Linked DNA regions of Homo sapiens: regions 1, 2, 3, 4, 5 and 7 are each linked to region 6. The links are contacts of gene promoters, found by promoter capture Hi-C in blood cells and fetal thymus (Javierre and others, 2016). All regions are on one chromosome and are shown on one strand. The core of a region is centred on a gene start or on the middle of the fragment in contact, and the rest is flanking DNA. Distances in the headings are between cores, read along the strand shown. Region 1 overlaps SPAG17 (sperm associated antigen 17). Region 2 overlaps SPAG17 (sperm associated antigen 17). Region 3 overlaps SPAG17 (sperm associated antigen 17). Region 4 overlaps SPAG17 (sperm associated antigen 17). Region 5 overlaps SPAG17 (sperm associated antigen 17). Region 6 holds the start of HAO2 (hydroxyacid oxidase 2). Region 7 overlaps SPAG17 (sperm associated antigen 17).

Region 1 (3,001 bases), core at 128-2,627, 1.3 Mb after region 6:
TGTCTTTTTTGTTTCGTCTTCATTTTTCACATTGGAGGGTAATATATAATATTGTCCTCTTTGCTCATATTAATAATGAAACAATAAAAATATGATAGGAAGTGCTATATGAGGTGGGGTGGGGGGTTGTCAATAACTGAGTTCATTGTTGGGTGATTTGACTGGGAGATTTCCATAGGAGACTCACCATTGTTGGTATGTCAGTTCTGTTTTCTTGGGCCATTTAAATTCTCCATGAAAAAAAAAAAGTCTAATTTTCTGTCTGAAAGACATAAGCCTTCCTGTCAGTGTTTTGAGAGCTAGGTAATGAGGGAAGGGTATTAAGCTTCTGACATTTATTATCTAGATCTGCATTATCCAGTGTGGTAGCCACTAGTCACATGTAACTTCTGAATACTTGAAATGAATCTAGACCAAATTGAGATGTGCAATAACTGTGCTATACACTATATAAGTGCTATTACACACTCAATTTCCAAGACTTTAAAAAGGTGGCATTGATTACTTTTACATTGTTTATATGTTGAAATGATAAGAATTTTTATCTATCAGGTTAAATATAATATATCATTAACATTTATTTTACTTGTTTCTTTTTACTTTTTAAAATGTGGCTACTATAAAATTTAGAATTGCACATGTGGCTCACATTTGTGGCTCACTTTATATTTCTATTGAGCAGTGCTGATTTAGGCTTTTACACAATTCCCTTTTTTTCTAGAATGTACTTCTCTGTCAGTGTGCGTTGGGTCCACTGTTCTTAGAACCCATTCATCTACCATCTGTAGTTACCCTCTTCCCCTCTGCTAGAGTGGGAGATAGGCAATAGCCCAGTTGCTCAGAATTTTAATGGAATCCAGGGGCCTAACTGCTTCTTAAAAAGATTTTAAACTAATCTTCCTATTTTCAGTGCCACTTTCACCCCACTTGCAGAGGTGACTAGTATTTCCATATCCTGAGACTTTCTATATTTCTGCACACAAATGGGGTTGCCTGTGGTCTCTCCTAAAATTAATCTTAGGACTTGGCTTTCTGTATTCTGCTAAGTCATTTAGCATTTATCCTTCTGCTTTCCAGCTTCTAAAATTCCGGTGCCTTTATCTCCTCTCCTTCAACAAGTTGAAGTTGGCTTTCAATTTTATGATATTAAAAAAACAAACAAAATGTTACTGTTCTTTTAATGAGGCGTTAGAGAGTGCAAATGTTCAATCTTTTCTCTGTAACTGAAAGTTTACTTCAGACTTTATACTATTTCAGTTTTTCTCAGTCCTTACTGCTCCATGAAGCTGCACTTTTCAAGGTAATCAATAATCTTTGTCTTGCCAAATCTAATGGACACTTATCTTTCTTCATCTTCCCTGACATTTTAACAGCATTGCAGAGCTTATCCCTTCCCCCATGAAACACTCTGCACTCTTGGTTTCCTCAGTGTTGTATTTGGAATTTTGTTGACTTTTCCTCCTTTACCCAGCATCTAATATGGAAGTGCCTCAAGGCTCTGGAGCCTCCAGGAAGCCCTAGAGCATCTTCTTGCCTCTGTAAACACCCTTCTTTGATGATCTCATCTGTTATATACTATCTAATGCTGATGCCCATATCTTTTAAATTATCTCTCTCTAGAGATTCACATTATTATACCTTACTCAAAATTCTACCTGAATTTCTGATCAAATTTAGTATCCATCTCAAATTTAGTATCCTATATGACACTCATATTTTTCCCACCTAAGCATTTCTTCCCTTGTCCATCTCAGAAAAGGTCACCATCATTCAAGTGCTCAAGCAAAAAGCCAGAATCATCCTTTGTTCCAACCTCTCCTTTATCCCTGATACCTAATCCATCATCAGTGTTTAAGGGGTATACCTCCAAATATATCTTCAAGCTCTTCTGCACCACAGCTACCACCACTTTTTTTTTTTTTTGAGACGGAGTCTCACTCTGTCGCTTAGGCTGGAGTGCAGTGGCATGCTCTCGGCTCACTGCAACCTCCGCCTCCTGGGTTGAAGCAATTATCCTGCCTCAGCCTCCTGAGTAGCTGGGACTATAGGCACGTGCCACCATATCTGGCTGATTTTTTGTATTTTTAGTAGAGACAGGGTTTCACCATGTTGGTGAGGATGGTCTCAATCTCCTGACCTCATGATCCACCCACCTTGGACTCTCAAAGTGCTGGGATTACAGGCGTGAGCCACCACACCCGGCCTACTTTTATATGACTACCACCCTCTAATTCCACCACAATATCCTCCTGATTACCTGCTTCCACTCTTGCCCTGCTCTAATCCATTCTCTATATATCAGATATTCCATTAATTTCATCTTTTCGGACACACCTCCTTCAACTCCAAAATAATCTATAAAGCCACAGGTCTGTAGTCCCAACTATTCAGGAGGCTGAGAGAGGAGGATAGCTTGAGGCTAAGCTTTAGGGGCCAGCCTGGGCAACATAGCAAGGTCCCGTCTCTAATTAACAACAACAAAAAAATCTTTATCATATTTTAGAGGAAAATCTTATCTATTTTGTTTATTTTTGTTTTCCTAGTACCTGCACAGTGCCTGCCACACAATAGGTACTCATTTTTAATGAAAAACTTAACTAAATAACTAACGTAACCAATAATATTAATACAGAATAAAAGACAAGCACCAATTAGTAAAAAAGGGGAAAATAAGATATGAAAACTTTACATATTGATTGAGAGCAGCTATAGTTCTGTGAAACTTAGTGCTGTATTTTTAGCACCCCCAAAGCAATATGAAAACCCAAAGATTTCAAAGCTCTTATTATCTAAAAGAAAGGATATATATTCATCATAAACGCAATGGTTTTCTGGGTTTATAGTGTGAGCAGAATTTGCTTTTCAAAAAAACATCAGTAAGTACTAGATGATACCCTACATAACAATATTTTAAAATGCAAAGATATTCACCACATGTATGTTTCTTATGTTGGCTCTGAGGAAACAGATGTAAAAGTGCCACTCCATAAAGACACTCATT
Region 2 (2,797 bases), core at 101-2,600, 1.2 Mb after region 6:
AATGAAAAGCTTACTGAAACAAAAATTGTCTATAAAGAATAAAAGTTCTTATGCTCTAGTTGATGACTCACTTATTTCAAAACAATTTTCCAAGTTTCTGTACAATAAAGAACTTGAACTATCCTAAACATTATGTGATATGGTGCAATTTTGTAAATGCAAATAATTATTAATTTTTTTTTTACTCCTGTCAGTAAAAAAATTCTCATATTTTTAAGAAAATAATTTTTAAAATAACTTTTTAACAAATATATCTTAAAATATTTCTACGGGCCTTTCTATTGCAACCGGGAGACCATCAAATGTGGAAAGATTTTTCTGATATTAGATTTAAAAATAATGGACCAAATGCAGTTTAATAAAATGTAGAATGCAAATTAGATCTTCAGATCTAATGCATTTCACCATACTTTAAGACACTATGCTAGTGCCTCAGATTAGTATGCCCAGATGTAATAGTTCCATTTTTTGACTTCTGTTTCCTGGATGTATAGAAATTTTTCTCAGGTCTTTTCCAACATGTATTTATTAGTAATTGACAAGTGAGAACACAGGCTTAATTATAATCTATTTTGCCACTCTTTTTCAGATTCCTGATATGAAACTCATTTTTTAAACAGTGCCTTGAATTAATAGTCAATTTAATAGAATTGTAAGCCCTTATATTGGGGGTGGCCCTTGTCAGAATGAAAAATGGAAAACTCATGCTTCAGAGATAGGTACAAATAATATGTGAAAACATTTAAGAGGTTTGAAGTTATTAAAATGGCAGCTCTACTGGGAACAGAGAGAGCAGTATGTCATGGAAGAAACGAAGGAAAAGGGAGACAGGAAGCATTCTCTGGCCTTTTCAATCCCGCGCTTTAAAACAAAACAAAAAAATTCTGGAAGAATTGGAAGCTAGCCAACCTAATGCCGTTATTTCATAGAGCTTAGGGACACACCAGGAAATTGCAGGCCAGTTAGTTTAACTTCACTTGTAGGAAAAGTATTAAAAACTGCTGCAGGAGATCAAGTAAAAGGATGCTTAGAAAAGCACAGCTTGATTAAGGCAAGCCTGGCCAACGTGATTTTCGGAAAGGGAAGGTCATGTCTTAGGAACTTGTTGAAATTCTTTGAAGCTATTATGGCCAGTACAGTCTTCAAAGAATACAGCAAGACTCAGAATCTGCGGATCTTTCCGTTCCACATCAGTCCTTCAGGGATGCCTACAGAACGTGGCCCACACCAGGGCCTCGGCACTCCACATTTAGAAACCACTATCAAAATAGCAGAAATAACCCCTGATGGAACATTTTTTAAAGCTGGAACCAATTAATACAACCTGATATTTATAAATGTAAAATAATGAGACTTGGAACAAAATTTGGGAATATCAAGCTGTAACAAAGAAGTGCTACGTTGGGACTATAAAAACAATCTAGGAGTTCTTGTGCCAAAATCTGGGTTTTGGAGGCATTTCTTACCCGAAGAAGGAAAGAAGAGGAGAAATAGTAATGCTAGAAACGGTTACAAAGGGCTATGAAGAGTTACAAATGAATGACTTTTGTCAAGATGGGGAAAAGAGCAGTCAGATGTGTTAACAGCCCTGGGCCCCCACATTTCTGGAGGGCACCAAAGCAGCTCAGCAGAGAAAGTCAAGTTCAAGCTAGTCACTGAGGGGCAGAAGGTCAGGGCTCCATTGCTTTAGGAATGGGCTCCCAGGGTGTGAATACGTTTGCCTCCCAGATCAGAAACCTGGAGTTCTATTTTCAAAGAAAAGCAGAACTCAAGTAAAGGCATTCAAAAACAATTCAAATCATGCCCCAGCTCTCTTCCACCCTGGGGGTCAGGCAGCTGGCCAAGCCCATGTGGCAAATAGTTAGCAGTCCAGGAGAGGGGAGGTAGACACTGGGGAGGTGTGGTGGTGATGCAGTGGAGCCGGGGATCCAGCAGCAGGAAGCCCATGCCACACAAGGACTGGGTTGCTGGCTAGGACCTGCAGGCAGTGGGCAAGGCAGGAATCTCATCAGGAGTTCCAAGACAGACCTCAGTGGAGGGCCAGCCACAAGAATAAAGTGAGGTTCAGCTAATGAAGAGAAGTCATCACAGCTTCTCCTCCAGGTCTGGGCTGGGGTGGTTTCTGAAACCTCTTAACACCCTATACTCTACAGACACCAGGATTGGAGGGGTGCTGGGGAAGGAATCAAGAAGATTGTATCATTCTGTTTCTGTATTTAAAACTGTGAAAAATCAATAATTACATATGGTGATAATAAAAGTTACCACTTATTGAACACATGTATTCCAAGTCTTGTGTGCTGGGTAGTTCATATATATCAACTAACCTAATCTCTTTTTTTTTGGCTGGCTTTTTTCTTTTTGTGGGGAACAGGAGCGTGCTATGTTGCCTGGGTAAGTCTTGAACTCCTGGGGTTCAAGCTATCCTCCCGCCCCTGCCAGCCCAATTACTGGGATTATAGGTGTAAACCACTGCACCTGGCTAACTTAACCATCTTAACAACCTTTCAGATACCTATGAATGATGAAATTTGAATCAGACTGGTTAGGTAACTTGTTGATTCAGAAGTCTGTTTTTTCTACTTGCATCACACACAAGCTGAGAATAAATAGTTTAAATTCTGGAAGTGACTGTTGTGGTTTAATATGTCTTCAATATAAGCTACTGCTAGTTACTTAGAATTAAGCTTTAAATCTCTCAGTAGTTCTATGATATGTTTATTACTTTTCCTTCTACTCAGGCAAAAACATGAAGGTATATCTGCAGATGATGAAGAGATCAAATAATTTCAGTTGG
Region 3 (3,060 bases), core at 59-2,558, 1.4 Mb after region 6:
GAAGTCTATTACTTAAGGACCGTGTCAGCCACCAGAGAGAGGAGAGATGAGTTTCTAAGAGCACTTATCGCACAGTTTTATACCCTTTCAGAGATGCTTCTTATCCAAGATCATGAGCAACCCCAAACATTTAGAATAGGATGAATAGGGCCAAACATGTATGTAACCTCAGCTAAAATATGTTAAATATTAGAAATAAGGGGGCATAAGACAATTAGTTAGAAGAGATATTAAAGCGAGCAGATAAGATATGAGGATACAGGAGAAATGATATCCTAACTATTCAGTTTGCCTCTTTATCGAGTAGCCCTTTCCAAACCTTAAGTCCTCCCTTGATTAATGTTTTCCTCCTGCAAACACAGTTTGTGACTAGGATCTATGGGTATTCTTTCTCCTAAAATGGTTTTCCAAGTCCCACATATTTAACAAGAAAATTTTAATAATTTCTGTCTTTCTGTTACTCTTTCAGGTGTTACCTCCAAACACAGGCTCTCTTTATATTGACAAGGATTGTTCAGCTGTGTACTGCCATGAGTCAAGCAGTAATATATACTATCCTTTTCAAAAGCGTGAGCAGCTGCGAGCTGGCAGGTACATCATGAGGCATACTTCAGAGGTTATCTGTGAGGTTCTGGATCCTGAGGGAAACACTTTTCAGGTAAAGTGCACCTTTGGTATGGAGAGAGAGCCTGTGGCTTTGCTTTTGAGATATTTCACACTACAAAGCTTCCATGTAGATTTTTACCTTAGTTGCCTTGGGATTAATTATCCACTTACTGCCAATACTTTGGGCAAGCAGTAATGAATGTCAATACATTTCCTTTGATTCTTAAGTGTACTTTCATGGAGAATGGCAAGCCGAATAATTGGTGGGATAGAAATGTTAGGGCTAAATAAATAATTAGAACAGAAAGGAAGAAACAGTAGCAGACATCTGAAAATAATGCCAACATAAAGAATGATGTGGCAATGGTCCTTATCCAAGTTGAAGTCAGAGCAAACACAAGACAGGAGGCAAGTTTCTTTGAGTAGTCACAGAGTAAGATGGTAAGAAGGATACAGTAGGGTTGAAAGTGGGGAAGTGGACCAACATCCAAGCTGAGTGCCAAATCAAGAACACAATCCTGAAGATGGCTGAATAGGAACAGCTCCAATCTGCAGCTCCCAGTGTGATCGACACAGAAGATGGGTGATTTCTGCATTTCCAACTGAAGTACCTGGTTCATCTCACTGGGACCAGTTGGACAGTGGGTGCAGCCCACGGAGGGCAAGATGAAGCAGGGCAGGGCATCCGCCTCACCTGGGAAGTGCAAGGTGTCAGGGGATTTCCCTTTCCTAGCCAAGGGAAACCATGACAAACTGTACCTGGAAAAACAGGACATTCCTGCCCAAATACTGTGCTTTTCCAATGGTCTTAGCAACCAACAGATAAGGAGATTCTCTCCCATGCCTGGCTTGGTGGATCTCACGCCCAAGGAGCCTTGCTGACTGCTAAACAGCAGCCTGAGATCAAACTGTGAGGCAGCAGCCTGGCTGGGGGAGGGGGTCCGCCATTGCTGAGGCTTGAGTAGGTAAACAAAGCAGCCAGGAAGCTCGAAATGGGCAAAGCCCACCACAGCTCAGCAAGGCCTACTGCCTCTAGTCTCCACCTCTGTGGGCAGGGCTTAGCTGAACGAAAGGCAGCAGACAACTTCTGCAGACTTAAACATCCTTGTCCAACAGCTCTGAAGAGAGCAGTGGTTCTCCCAACATGGCGTTTGAACTCCGAGAAGGGACACACTGCCTCCACAAGTGGGTCCATGACCCCCGTGTAGCCTAACTGGGAGACACCTCCCAGTAGGGGCCAACAGACACCTCATATAGGCAGGTGCCCCTCTGGGACGAAGCTTCCAGAGGAAGGATCAGGCAGCAATATTTGCAGTTCTGCAATATTTGTTGTTCTGCAGCCTCCACTAGTGATACCCAGGCATCCAGCAAACTCCAACAGACCTGCAGCTGAAGGACCTGACTATTAGAAGGAAAAGTAACAAACAGAAAGGAATAGTGTCAGCATCAACAAAAAGGACATCTACACCAAAACTCCATCTGTAGGTCACCAACATCAAAGACCAAAGGTAGATACAACGACAAAGGTGGGGAGAAACCAGAGCAGAAAAGCTGAAAATTCTAAAAATCAGAGTGCTTCTCCTCCAAAGGATCACAGCTCCTTACCAGCAACAGAACAAAGCTGGATGGAGACTGACTTTGATGAGTTGACAGAAGTAGGCTTCAGAAGGTCAGTTATAACAAACTTCTCTGAGCTAAAGGAACATGTTCAAACCCATCGCAAGGAAGCTAAAAACCTTGAAAAAAGCTTAGACGAATGGCTAAGTAGAATAAACCATGTAGAGAAGACATTAAATGACCTCATGGAGCTGAAAACCATGACATGAGAACTTCATGACACATGCACAAGCTTCAATAGCTGATTTGATCAAGTGGAAGAAAGGGTATAAGTGACTGAAGATCAAATTAATGAAATAAAGTGAGAAAAGAAATTTAGAGTAAAAAGAAACAAACAAAGCCTCCAAGAAATACAGGACTATGTGAAAAGATGAAATCTATGTTTGACTGATGGACCTGAAAGTGATGGGGAGAATGGAACCAAGTTGGGAAACACTCTTCAGGATATTATCCAGGAGAACTCCTCAACCTAGCAAGGCAGGCCAACATTCAAATTCAGGAAATACAGAGAACATCACAAAGATACTCCTCGAGAAGAGCAACCCCAAGACACAAGTGTCAAATTCACCAGGGTTGAAATGAAGGAAAAAATGTTAATGGCAGCCAGAGAGAAAGGTCGAGTTACCACAAAGGGAAGCCCATCAGACTGACAGTGGATCTCTTGGCAGAAACCCTGCAAGCCAGAAGAGAGTGGGGGCCAATATTCAACATTCTGAAAGAAAAGAGTTTTCAACCCCAAATTTCATATCCAGCCAAACTAAGCTTCATAAGTGAAGGAGAAATAAAATCCTTTACAGACAAGCAAATGCTGAGAGATTTTGTTACCACTAGGCCTGC
Region 4 (3,102 bases), core at 331-2,830, 1.3 Mb after region 6:
TTTTAATGTTAATGGAAATTAGTTTAAAATATACTGTTCTCCAGTCTCCCAAGTTTGGCCTTGCTAGAGGAATGCAAAGGCAAAAAGAATGGGAGAGAAAGGAGAAGTGAGCAGAGAGAGAAAGGGAAGTGAGCAGGATGAATGGCTGAGGTGGGTGGAGTGCTCTGGAGAAAGAAAAGGGCATCAAGCAAGTGTGATTCAGCCCCTGGGAAGACAGAGTAGAGGGAGGCAGACAGGTATGGAGAAATCAGGAGAGCATCAAAGACAGACAAGAGTATCATGGAAATAAAATGAGTTTAGGGTTTGAAGTCAGACCAGCACTCTCTACCACAGTTGTGTGTCTTCGGACAAACTCTGTATTAATTTATAAAATGGGGATAAAATTACCCATCTTACAGGTTGCCTTGTGAGATCAAATTAAAGATGATGATGTCTGGAAACTATACTCTGCTACTAGAATTTAGCACTTCCTTTGAATGTTTGGTTGTAGTCCGCCCTCCTTTCTGCAGAATCCCAGAATCCCAAGAACCAAATAGAAGAAAGGGCCAGAGAGTTCCTGAGCTTCTAGAACTCCAGTCTTTGCTAAAATGGCTTCAAAGGGATGAGACTTATGTGGCTGCACAGGCTCTCACACCCTACCTAGGAGAACCTGGAGGGCCAGAGGGCCTCTTACTGTCTAACACATGATGGGGAGGAGTATCTGTGAAATGATGAAATGAATGAATGAATGCATAAATGAATTAATGTTTATTCTTCCAGGTAAACTTTAAAATAATTTAATCTAAAATGGTTTCATCTTTTTAGATCAAAAGATCACCCTGAGATTTTATTTAAAATTGCAGTTGTAAAAGTTTCTGGTATGTTTTTGATGGCTACATTGGAACTTTTCTGTAGCAAGGCCAGCTGTCTACCAACATGTTGCACAGGGTGTTGCAAATTAGTAAATTTGCTATGATCCAAAGCTTGGCTGTTAGAGAGCCCTGCATGAGTCTTACCAGTGCTTCCAGGCCAACTGCACTCAGGGGCACTGACTTGTGCCTTACAAACCCATTAAAAAAGAGCATGGGTGACTGGCCTGGCTTTGCCACATATTAGCTTTGAGTTTGAACAACTACTTGCCCTCACTAAGACTCAGTTTTCTCCTCCGTAAAATGAAGATGGTGCTCTACCTATTGTAGTTATTGTGAAGACTTGACGAGATAGAATATTTGGACTATAGTAAGAATGTAATAAATAGAAATGTAATATTGATAATGATAAGGATGATAATAATAGTGACAATGACAGCCATGATTAGAATAGCCCCTTGCTAATTTACTACAGTAAATATTACTGTCAGTTTTGTGGGACAGACCCATCAGCATTAACTGAAAGTTTTCTCCCTGTAGACAAATTGTACATAGGAAGGCAAACTGTCAGAAACTTATGTAGTACCTCAAGTCTTAACTAGGGAGTTAGTTTAAAGGTTTACAGTCCTGATGGCCTGATGCAGCCCCCTGACCACATGGCTGTAACTCCCAGGTTACCCAGACCCTCCTATCTGTCTATCAGGAAATCTCTGCCCTGGACAATTTGGAATTAACACTGTTATTCTCTGCCTCTCTGATTTCTCTGATTCTTCTTTTTTTTTCTTTTTTGATGTTTTTTATTACTGAGTAATGCTCTTCTTACTGGCCTCTTAGTTCTCTAATGATTATTTCCTCCACTCCACCTCAGCCATTGCCTCCCTTGAACCTTGTCATCACTGAAGCCCTCATCACCTCCAAAGTCTTGAGATGTCCTGTTCTCTAACCTTGGAAATTTCCTATCCTTGTCTCTTACTCATAATCCAATATCCTCCTACATAATTTCTTCAACCACATTATAAATCCCAGTCCATAAATCCCAACACTTTCTATTCATTGTCCTCTCCTGCTATTTGTTTGGCTTAGGTTCCATGATCCAATCAGTATTATCGTTTCTCTGCTTACTCTTGATTCCCCTTGCTCTTCTCTCCTTCCATCACAATCATTTCGCAAAACCCCTCCCAGGATGAACTCAGTGATCCATCATTTTCATTTCTATTCCTGAGCAGCTAAACATAAATGGAGGAATTCACACAATTAAACAGACTGATTTCATGTAAAATTAACAATCTCAACATTTTCAATAAGTTCTCACCACTGGCAGAGTCCTACCATATTACCTCGGTAAGCTTGCTCCCCCACTCTCTGACATAAGATAACTCTTACGTCATCTTCCCTATTCAAACCTCCTGCCTCTTTCCTGCCTTTTCTCAGTTGATGACTTTGCCTCATGCTTCACTTGAAAAAATTGAAACATTTTCTCAACACCATCAAGATGTCTCTGTTTCTGGCACCCAGCCTCTTCCTGTTGTTCTTAGTTATGAAACTAAGAAATTCCCTCTCCTTCTATCAAGGTCCAGTCATTGGCACATTCTTTTGTTCTTATCCCATGTTGACTTCTAGAGAACTTCAGTCTCCTCAGCCCCGTATCTTCACTGTCTCCTTCTCTACTGGATCATTCCATCAGCCTGCAAGCATAACATCTCTTGACTTTACATATATACATACCTTGACCTCATACCCCCTTGCATCCACTCACCCACTGAACAACTCAGAGCTCTGGTTCTGCTTCACAACCAAACTTCCAGAAACAGTTGTCCATAAAAGTGGTTTCTCTATTGATACTGCCCTCCTATTTTCCACCTCCACACTCCACCATAATTGCTCTTCTTCATGTTACCTACAACTGCCAATTCTTGTCTTTTTGACCTTTTTGGTTTCTTAGTTCTCTAGCTTCACACTATATATTTTTCCCTATCTTTTTATCCACTTCGCTGTCTCTTTCTGCTGGCATCTCTCCCTATACCCATTGGTAAGCATTGGAGTCTCTAGCATGATCTCGGACTCAATTCTCATATTTCTCAAGAAACTTCACCCATGGTGATTCATCTCTTCCCATGCGATTATCTACTATTTGTATGTTATGCACACCTGCATTTGTAACTCTAGCCAAATTTCTCTTCTAGGGAGAGAATGTGTGTATTGAACTACCTTCTTGACCTCTCAAGAGGCATCTCAAAGTTGACATAACACTGTT
Region 5 (2,792 bases), core at 233-2,732, 1.3 Mb after region 6:
ACATATCCTCAATACTCTGTGTCTGGTGTCATTTTAATGGAAGAGGAAAAGGAAGAGAACATGGACAAGTGGGTGAGGTTGTTAATAGTCTTTATCTTTAAAATTTCTTTCATGCTTGTAGATTTAACTAGATTTTTGTATTTCTGAGGCCAATTTTTGTCATCAGCTTTTTTCTTAATGAATATGTCTTAATAAGTATTTTATTGGAGTTTTAAATCTGATACAATGTGCTTTACACTATTCACTTAAATATGTTTTAAAATTTCCTCTGTATCTGGTCATGTACCTTTCCTCATGACTGATGTTATTTATTTGTGCTTTCCTTTTCTTGATCATGATTGTTAAGGGCATAGCTATTGTATTGGTCTTTTCAAAGAACCAGGATTTGGTTTCATTGATCAACACCTTTTTACTTTTTATTTTATTAATCTCTTCATTAATTTCTTCATCTATTTATTTATATATTTGTTATTTATTTAATTATTTTTAAGACAGGGTCTCTCTCTGTCCCCTAGGCTGGAGTGCAGTAGCACAATCATAGTTCACAATCTCAAACTCATGGGCTCAGTGTTCCTCCCACTTCAGCCTCCTGAGTATCTAGAACTACAAGCATGCACCACCATGCCCAGCGAATTTAAAATAATTTTTTTGGAGAGACAAGGCCTTGCTATGTTGCCCAGTATGGTCTTTAACTCGTGGCCCCAAGCCAACCTCCCACCTAAGCCTCCTAAAGCACTGGGATTATAATCATGAACCACCGTGTCTGGCTCATCTCTGTCATTTCCATCTTTCTACTTTCTTTGGATTTATTTTGTATTTCATTTTAATTGAAAGCTTACTTCATTTATTTTTAGTCTTTTTGCTTTATTTAAGGCTATACATTTCTTTTCGAGTGTTTCTTTGTTTGCATCCTGATGCTTTCAGTGTATTCAATTCTAAATCTTTTATTTATTTACATGTTTAACCCATGAATTATTTTGATTTCCATTATTTACTGATGATTTCTAATTTTTTAACATTATAATCAGTAGGCATTTTCTGCAAGTTAGCAAATTCAAATTTCCTGAGGCTTCCTGTGTGACCTGATGTAACATGGTCATTGTGAAGGTTCTATGTGTATCTGAAAGAGTTTGTGATTCATACTAGTAGCACATATGTAGCACTTACAGGCGCCAGGCACTGTTCTAAATGCTTTCAATATGTTAACTCATGTAATCTTCAGAACAATCCTATGAAGTAGGAACTGTTTTTATCCCCCATTGTATTAGTCCATTTTCACACTGCTGTAAAGATACTACCCCAGACTGGGTAATTTATAAACAAAGGAGGTTTAATTGACTCACAGTTCCGCATGGCTGGAGAGACCTCAGGAAACTTACAGTCATAGTAGAAGGGAAAGCAGGCACCTTCTTCACAAGACAGCAGGAACAAACTACCACTTTTAAAACCATCAAGTCTCATGAGAATTCCATCATTATCATAAGAACAGCATGGGGGAAACCACCCTCATTCTCCCATCACCTCCCTCCCTCGACACGTGGGGATTACAGTTTGAGATGAGATTTAGGTGGAGATACAGAGCCAAACCGTATCACCCATCTTACAGATAAGGAAACTGAGGCACAAAAAGTTTTTCAAGTTTGTTCAAGTAATAAGTAGCAGAAATGACTTAAAACCTAGTGAATCTGCACAGAAAAGTATTTGGATGCCATTTCTGCATTGTCGTCTTCCTTTTAATGTTGCTGTTAAGAAGTCTGATGTCAATCTGATACTTTTTTCTTTGAAGATAATCTTTACTTTTCTTTCTAGCAGCTGTTAGGGTTTTCTCTTTATAATTGATAACACAAGACTATGTCTAGGTATGATTTTATCATACTTGTCCTTATGGTGTAAGGGAATTATCATCTGATTTCCAGTCACATTCTGTGTGAAATAAAAATTCCTTACACTGTCCCATAAAGGCCCTAAAAATAGGGTTCTGAGATGTACCTGTCATCTCACCTCCTACCTGCCACCACACACACACACACACACACACGTCATCTACATAGGCCTTCTGGTTTTTCCTCAAATATGTTGCTTAATTCTATCTTAACCTTTTACTCTACCTTCTCTGCCTAGAAAGCTTTCTCTCTTTCTGGAGGGTCTCCAGTAGAAGTGTCAATCCTTAGAGAGGCCTTCTCTGACCACCTGATCTAAAGAACCCTCTCCCCACACAACACACAGCACTCTCTACCACATCACCTTGTTTTATTTTCTTATCAACAGCTTTTCTTTTTGCAATATATTGATCAGCTATTTTTTTCTTCCCTTCCCCGTCCTCCTACTAGAATATAAACTCCATGCAAGCAGTAACAATGTAGTCTTGTTCGTTGCTGTATGCTCAGCACACAATAACCACACCTAACCCATAGTAGACACTAAATACATATTTGTTAAATTCAGAAGATTCTAAGAAAGTCTTCTATCTTCAAATATCATTTTTCCTATCGATTTACCTTAATTATTATTGAATGGGTGTTGGAGTTTCAGGGTTTTTCTCTTTGTCTTTTAAGTTTTCTTTCAATTTTATCCCTTTGGGAATTCCAGCTTAACTTCCTACTAATGCTTTCTTCAGGGAGTCCAGTCTGCTATTGAAGTTTTGTTTTGGCAGTAATGTTTTTAATTTGTAAATTCTCTACTTTTTTTTTACAATTGCCTATTCTTGTTTTTAGTGCATGGATGTGACACATTTTTTCTGTTAATACATAAAAGGTTTATTTTAAAGTCCTTTTCAGACTCTATCATCTCTG
Region 6 (2,941 bases), core at 190-2,689:
TGTGACTAGTTCTTCTGGCCAATGGCCTGGGAGTGGGAATAGCAGGTGTGAATTCTAGGCCAAGGATTGAAGAGCTGGTATGTGACCCTCCAGCTTTGTTTCCTCCTCTACAGCGATCCTCCATCCTCAAGAAGGCAAAGCTGTAAGAGAAAGGCCACTTGGATTCCCAAAACGCCATTTGGAAAAGGGTAGCCCTGGAGATCAGCTGATATTGTGTAAGGAAGAAATAAATATTTATGTGTTATCTCACTAAGTTGTTAAGGTTTATTCTTTACTATAACATAGCCTGATTTAACATAATATATCAAAGTATTATGCTAAACACTAGAGATATGGGGGGGGACCTTTATCACATCAGTTTCTGCTCTCAAGAAGCTTACAGTCGAAGAAGACAGACTTTCATAGCTCATCATTTGATAGCTGATACGATTTAGAGTACAACAGGAGTCCCTTTGAGGGGAGAGTTACCTGGGAATTTGGCAATATTCCCATTACCTCTCAAATGATATACCACAAGTGATGTTCCACTCAATCTATTCTAGACAAGCTCCAATTCTCATCTATCTTTAAATTAGGTTATTACTGTCTATCTCATAGGGATCTTGTGAGAATTGAAGGATCTTGTAAAATGCAGAATATAGTAGTAGTTAAGAATAAAAGTTTGCGGATTTTGCTTCCTGCTAATGGACGCTTTATTCTGTTCCATTGATCTGTTATCTATCTTTATACCAGTACCTCCCTGTCTTCATTAGCGTTCTTGGCAGTTCTCCGCAGGTTGATCTGTAGATTCAACTTAACACAATCAGAGGCTCTTCATTAGTGGGACTTTGTAACCCATTTGTTCCAAATAAGCTTATTGCTCAAAGGAACTACATTGTTTGAGACACATTAACTTCTTTACTTTTTTAGGAGCATAGCCATGTCACTGTTTTCTTTTGCTTGTGGCCGGGAAGCAGTGGTCAGAATACTAAATATATCCCTGAAGGCAATAGCAATACCTTTTAGGTTTTCAGAACGCTGTCAAGTGAAAACATTTTAACCCATTTTTCCTCCTATGGACACCCACGAATATTCCACCATACAATTCTAAGACTCAACTTCCTAGACTTAACCTTCTCTGTCTGTATCCTTTTTGAAACCAAATCTTCCTTTGCCCATGCCCTCTGAGTTCCCTAACACCTGTCTCCCTAGGACCATCTTTGCCAAGGTCCTTGCCTTGCAAACTCATAGTTGGCTTCCACGATATCTTCCATTCCCATCCTATCTGGCACTTCATCACCCTTCTCAGTTCCAAGCACACAGAACACACTCAATGACAAACCTTATTCTAATGTCTTCCAGTCCTCAGGGAAAGAAGTGTTTAGACGCAGCCACTCAAAGCCTGGCTCACTGCCGGAGGTGTTAGGAAACACACCACATCACTACCCACAGTTCAGGCTAAAGAAGAGGCTGAAGTCTCAAAGTTAATCTTTTAATGAAAACATCCAGCTTAGCAGTAAATAAGCAACTAGGCCAGAGCAAGGTTGACTTTGAAAGAATTTTGCTGACTTTGCAAATTTACTTCAAAATTAAGTGAAGTTTATTACAAAATTAAACTTCAAAGTGAAGTTGTAATTTCCTACCTGAAATCACCCATTCCCTACCTCTAAATTCAAACTTGATGTTGTCCTCTGCTCATCACAGATTGTTAGAGGTAGGGAGTGGATGATTTCAGGTAGGAAATTACAAAAGTCCCCGGGTTGGAGGAGGGGCTTTTTGTGGTGATGGGGTTGGGGTGGGAGAAGAGCAAGCACAGCCTGGGAGCCCATGGGCAGGACAGCAGTGGGGACCCAGGCCAGGACGGTCCGAGCTTTGGGGATTTTGGAGGGTGCATAGTGTAGAGCCCTCCCTGCCCACAGAACTGTTCTGGGGAAGTAATTATGTCTAGATTAATATGGGAGTCAGGGAGAACCAGTGAAATTTTTGAGTGGAAAATTATTCAGGAATGTAGAAGAAATGCTAGGAAAAGCAAACTTAAAAGTACATGGAAAAATAGAATTAATTTCTCCAGAAGAGTTCTGTAGGGGTCCCAGAAAGGTCACTAATTTGTCCAGGTCTGTTCGTCTCCACTCCTCCCCCAGCTCTTGCCACTGCTCCTTAGTATTGCCACAGCTCACGTGTGTGATGCGCTTACGACGTGCCAGACACACTACACGCATTACTTCATTTGATCTTCACGGAAGGTCAATCTTTTCAAGATTGTCTCTTTTTCAGAAGAGAAAATGAGATTAACGAACATGCCCAAAGCCTTTCAGCAGTAAAGAGCAGAATTGGGATTTGAACCTAGCCTGTAGCCAACACACGGAGCAGAGGAGGCCGAAATCCTGAGCTGTACCGATGACCATAGCAGTGGGGTTTGCCTTTCCTTTAGAACCTGTAGTTAGAGAGCAAAATGATGAATTTACCACTGACTTGTCATACCATCTCCACTCAAGGCTCATTGGCTATTTATTTGGAGGGTAATCCCTACCTGCTATCTAGCCACTAGAGGACAGTATTACCTCAAAAATGCTTTCAAAAGTAGCCAAAATCTGGGTTCTGGAAATTTCTTTTCCATAGCAATTTTCACAATCTCCATAATCAGCCTCTAGGCCATGTCCTCGGTCAGCTCTCACAACACCTGGCCTGCTCACAGTCCCCTGATCCAGACCCTCCCTTGCTGTTTTCCAGACTCCGACTCTGTCTCTCCCTTCCAGAAGGAAGCCTGGTGATGAGCACACACTGGAACATGGTGCTCAAGCTCCAAACTGCAGCCACTCACTCACTAACATCCACATGTTACTTAAATTCTCTGTGCCTCAGTTTCCTCATAATACCTCCCACACTGTAATGAGAAGTAAGTGAGTTAATACTTAAAAGATGCTGGCAGTAGATAGAAAGAACAGTAGAGCTTCTCATGAGA
Region 7 (3,171 bases), core at 287-2,786, 1.2 Mb after region 6:
TGTACCCTCCTGTTTACTGCAGCACTATTCACAGTAGCCAAGATATGGAATCAATCTGTGTCTGTCAACAGATGAATGGATAAAGAAAATGTGTTATTTATACAAAATGGAATAGTATTCTGCCATAATAAAGAATGAAATCCTGTCATTTACAAAAACATGGATGAGCCTGAACAATCTAATGTTAAGTGAAATAAGTCAGACACAGACAGATAAATACCACATGTTCTTACTCATATGTGGAGCTAAAAGTGAGCTTATAGATGTAAAGAGTGGAGTCGCAATTATTACAGTCAGGGAAGGGGAGGAAAAAGGGGAAGAAAGGGAGAGGTTGGTTCATGGATACAAAATTACCACTAGATAGGAGGAATAAATTCTAGTGTTCTATAGCACTGTAGGTGAATATAGTCTAATAACTTGTATGTAGTTCAAATAGCTAAAAAAGAAGATTTTGAATTGTTCCTAACACAAAGAAATGATAAGTGTTTGAGGTGATAGATATGCTAATTACCCTGATTTAATCATTACACACTCTACACATGTGTAAAAATATCACTTTGTATCCCGTAAATATTTACCATTATTATATGTCAAAAATATATATATATATATGAATACAATAAAAAATAATACAAATTTTTTAAAAAATTGATATGTGCTCAGGCCAGGAGACGAGCAATAGCTGGAGCTATCAGGACTGAGGGTCCTGAGTCACAGGTCCCCACTAGGTCTCAGGAAAAAAGAAACAGCTCAGCTATTTAGAGTTGAGGCATCAGGTAGGAGCAAAACTAGTAAGGGTAGCAAGAATATTTAAACATAAAAACCTGGGCTAAAAGGCTCTCAGGCTCTTGCAGCTAAGATGGGGATTGGCCATGGAGACTGGGGAGGGACTAGGACACATCCATGCCCAGGAGAAGAGGGACCGTGACCCAAGATGGGAGTCCAGTAGCTCCAGCTAAGGGGTGAAAAGGCCCACTGTGAGGCCACACAATATGTTGACTAGAAACAGGATTCTGGAACCAGATAGCCTGGGTTCAAATCCCATCTCTACTAATTACCGGCTGTGTGATCACCAGGCCTCAGTTTCTGTATCTAATAAAATAGGTGATAGGAATACTCACCTCAAAAGTGTAGGTGAAAATTAAATGGATTGGAATATGTGAAGTGCCTGGAACGGTCCTTGTCCAGCACAGGGTGTGTGCTACATAACCATTTGTGTGTTACACAGTCTGAGCACCTACTACTACTTGAAATATATTCCTAAAGCTTTGTAATTGCAGCTATAAACAATCAAAAACATTTACCTTCAAGCCAAACAACAAAAAGCTCTAGAGATGCCATTCTTATGTTTATTTAAGGAGTGAATATACTGTTTGTCTATATATGCATCAGATTCTGTGAGGGGATTTCAAAAGATGAATCTGAAAGGATTTAACCTTCCAAGCTAGTAGAGGAGACAAACCCTGTGCACAAATAATTTTAATACAAGAGACAGCTAAATCCCTTAGGAAATATACAAAAAACGTTGTAGGGTTGTTCAGAAGGGAAGGTCACTACAACTGCAAGGACCAAGAATGACTTCAGAGGGGTGGGAGCATCTTAGACTAAGGAAAAGATCTTAGTCTAAAAACCAAAACAAAACATTGCCATGATAGTAGAATCGTTTGTTGCTAATACACACCTAAAGAAAAGCCCTTAACTTGGTATGTCATTCTTCCATACGTTATCACATTCAGCTTCATGTGCCTTTATACATTTTGCAAGTATACAAAAACAAAAACACTCCTTAATAAAAAGGAAGCTTTGCTTTTTCCTTCTTTGAAGAGTAATTCCAGCAAACATTTCTAAAATAGTCCTGTGCTTTTTGACATGCACATATTGGTTGTTCAAAATGTACACCTCCCGTAGGAAATTCATTACATTTTAAATTATACATGTCTGTTAAAGCATAGATCTGTTCTACCTTCCATGTATTTGTTATTGCTGCTTCTGAAACTTCCTTACAGCCCCAAAGAGGTCTTAATCCCTGTCAAATGTTATTATGTTACCAACTTTTATGTAGTCTTGAAAGGGGTTGTTTATTTAGTTTCAGTGACTCCTTGTTACTGCCAAATATTATTTCATTTCAGCACAGATGTAAGGGGTCCAATGACTGGAATTATTTTACAGCCCTGACATTGTCGAGAGATGGATACCAGTTTAATTATGGACAGCTGAAAATGATCTAGGAGTCACCTGCTACAGATATTTATCATCATTATGAATTTCTCACCAAGCTGTGGTCTGAGCACTTTCATAACGTTCCATTTGCGTTAGACAGACAGTATGATCTATATGGAACCTATATCTTCAGTCACCTTTAAATTTATGTATAGACAGTTTAATATTGCTTATTTTCTTTTCCTCTTCTCAAAGTGAGAAAATATGTTTCAGTCATTCCTGTTCTTTTTCTTCTCTTTTTTTCTGTTTCTCTCCATAGCCCCCTCTCACTGCTACCCTTATCCTTTCAGCTGTTTTTCCAATTATGCCTCATTGGAAATTACTCATTACTTAAAGAATGTGAATTGGATAGACTAGACACATACAGGATCAAGTAATGCAATAACTACAATATAGTTGGCCCTAAATAAATGCAGAAAGAATGAAGGAGGGAAGGGAGCAGAGGGAACAGGAAAGGAGGCTGTAAAATTACAGAACACTATTGATGGAATTCCTCCATCTCACATTTGAGAAGAAATTAATAGCATATTTTTTCCTCTACATCCTCCCCATTATACACTGCACCAAAATAAAATACATTTTTACACCTTTTCTTTTTATCTCTGCTTCTCTCTAAAGATATCTCAATTTGTCCTTTTCAGATTGGACAAAGGGTTAAATAAAAGGGGTAGCCAGGTTATGGCCAGTTGATAATAAATTCAGGTCACTGTCTCACTGCCCAGTTGCTCCTCATTCCATTCCATTCTCTGCTCTCACAACTTGGGCTGTGGAATCTTCAAGAATCCCAACTCTGTCCTGGATGTATGAATAACCATAAGTACTGACTTTAGTGAACATTTATCATGCATATGTCATTCACCATGCAAAGTATTTACATGGGTCATCTCATTTAATTCTGGGTACTGAATTATGAAGTCAGCACTACTCATATTCTCTTTCTGTAGTTCTTTC

The links. Contacts are between HindIII fragments. The CHiCAGO score rates a contact against its expected background, and 5 or more counts as called.
Region 1: a contact is called between a fragment that was not itself captured here and the fragment with the promoter of HAO2 in region 6, in 1 of 17 cell types (endothelial precursors). The highest score is 12.5, in endothelial precursors.
Region 2: a contact is called between a fragment that was not itself captured here and the fragment with the promoter of HAO2 in region 6, in 9 of 17 cell types (endothelial precursors, M2 macrophages, naive B cells and 6 more). The highest score is 21.3, in endothelial precursors.
Region 3: a fragment that was not itself captured here is called in contact with the fragment with the promoter of HAO2 in region 6 in 1 of 17 cell types (endothelial precursors); the score reaches 5.9 in endothelial precursors.
Region 4: a fragment that was not itself captured here is called in contact with the fragment with the promoter of HAO2 in region 6 in 1 of 17 cell types (endothelial precursors); the score reaches 7.9 in endothelial precursors.
Region 5: a contact is called between a fragment that was not itself captured here and the fragment with the promoter of HAO2 in region 6, in 3 of 17 cell types (endothelial precursors, M2 macrophages and erythroblasts). The highest score is 12.3, in endothelial precursors.
Region 7: a fragment that was not itself captured here is called in contact with the fragment with the promoter of HAO2 in region 6 in 1 of 17 cell types (endothelial precursors); the score reaches 12.8 in endothelial precursors.

What each region holds. Positions count from the first base shown.
Region 1 is chr1:118,068,267-118,071,267 of GRCh38, reverse strand. The region is part of intron 17 of SPAG17 (sperm associated antigen 17); the gene reads left to right. Among named protein-coding and RNA genes, the nearest start is that of SPAG17, 120 kb to the left of the region's middle. The HindIII fragment of the contact is 2,099 bases long and covers 328-2,426 here.
Region 2 is chr1:118,143,103-118,145,899 of GRCh38, reverse strand. The region is part of intron 3 of SPAG17 (sperm associated antigen 17); the gene reads left to right. Among named protein-coding and RNA genes, the nearest start is that of SPAG17, 41 kb to the left of the region's middle. The HindIII fragment of the contact is 2,678 bases long and covers 12-2,689 here.
Region 3 is chr1:118,003,012-118,006,071 of GRCh38, reverse strand. SPAG17 (sperm associated antigen 17) reads left to right here. Exons shown (of 49, transcript NM_206996.4): 32 at 470-658. Among named protein-coding and RNA genes, the nearest start is that of WDR3, 75 kb to the right of the region's middle. RefSeq lists an enhancer at 1,520-2,035. The HindIII fragment of the contact is 1,160 bases long and covers 729-1,888 here.
Region 4 is chr1:118,104,385-118,107,486 of GRCh38, reverse strand. All of the region lies in intron 4 of SPAG17 (sperm associated antigen 17), which reads left to right. Among named protein-coding and RNA genes, the nearest start is that of SPAG17, 79 kb to the left of the region's middle. The HindIII fragment of the contact is 1,232 bases long and covers 965-2,196 here.
Region 5 is chr1:118,088,579-118,091,370 of GRCh38, reverse strand. All of the region lies in intron 10 of SPAG17 (sperm associated antigen 17), which reads left to right. Among named protein-coding and RNA genes, the nearest start is that of SPAG17, 95 kb to the left of the region's middle. The HindIII fragment of the contact is 1,291 bases long and covers 837-2,127 here.
Region 6 is chr1:119,367,283-119,370,223 of GRCh38, reverse strand. It overlaps HAO2 (hydroxyacid oxidase 2), which reads right to left and starts at 1,439. Exons shown (of 8, transcript NM_016527.4): 1 at 1,322-1,439. HAO2-IT1 (HAO2 intronic transcript 1) reads right to left here and starts at 1,278. Exons shown (of 2, transcript NR_046780.1): 1 at 1,216-1,278; 2 at 1-140. The HindIII fragment of the contact is 4,151 bases long and covers 855-2,941 here.
Region 7 is chr1:118,122,672-118,125,842 of GRCh38, reverse strand. The region is part of intron 3 of SPAG17 (sperm associated antigen 17); the gene reads left to right. Among named protein-coding and RNA genes, the nearest start is that of SPAG17, 61 kb to the left of the region's middle. The HindIII fragment of the contact is 535 bases long and covers 1,269-1,803 here.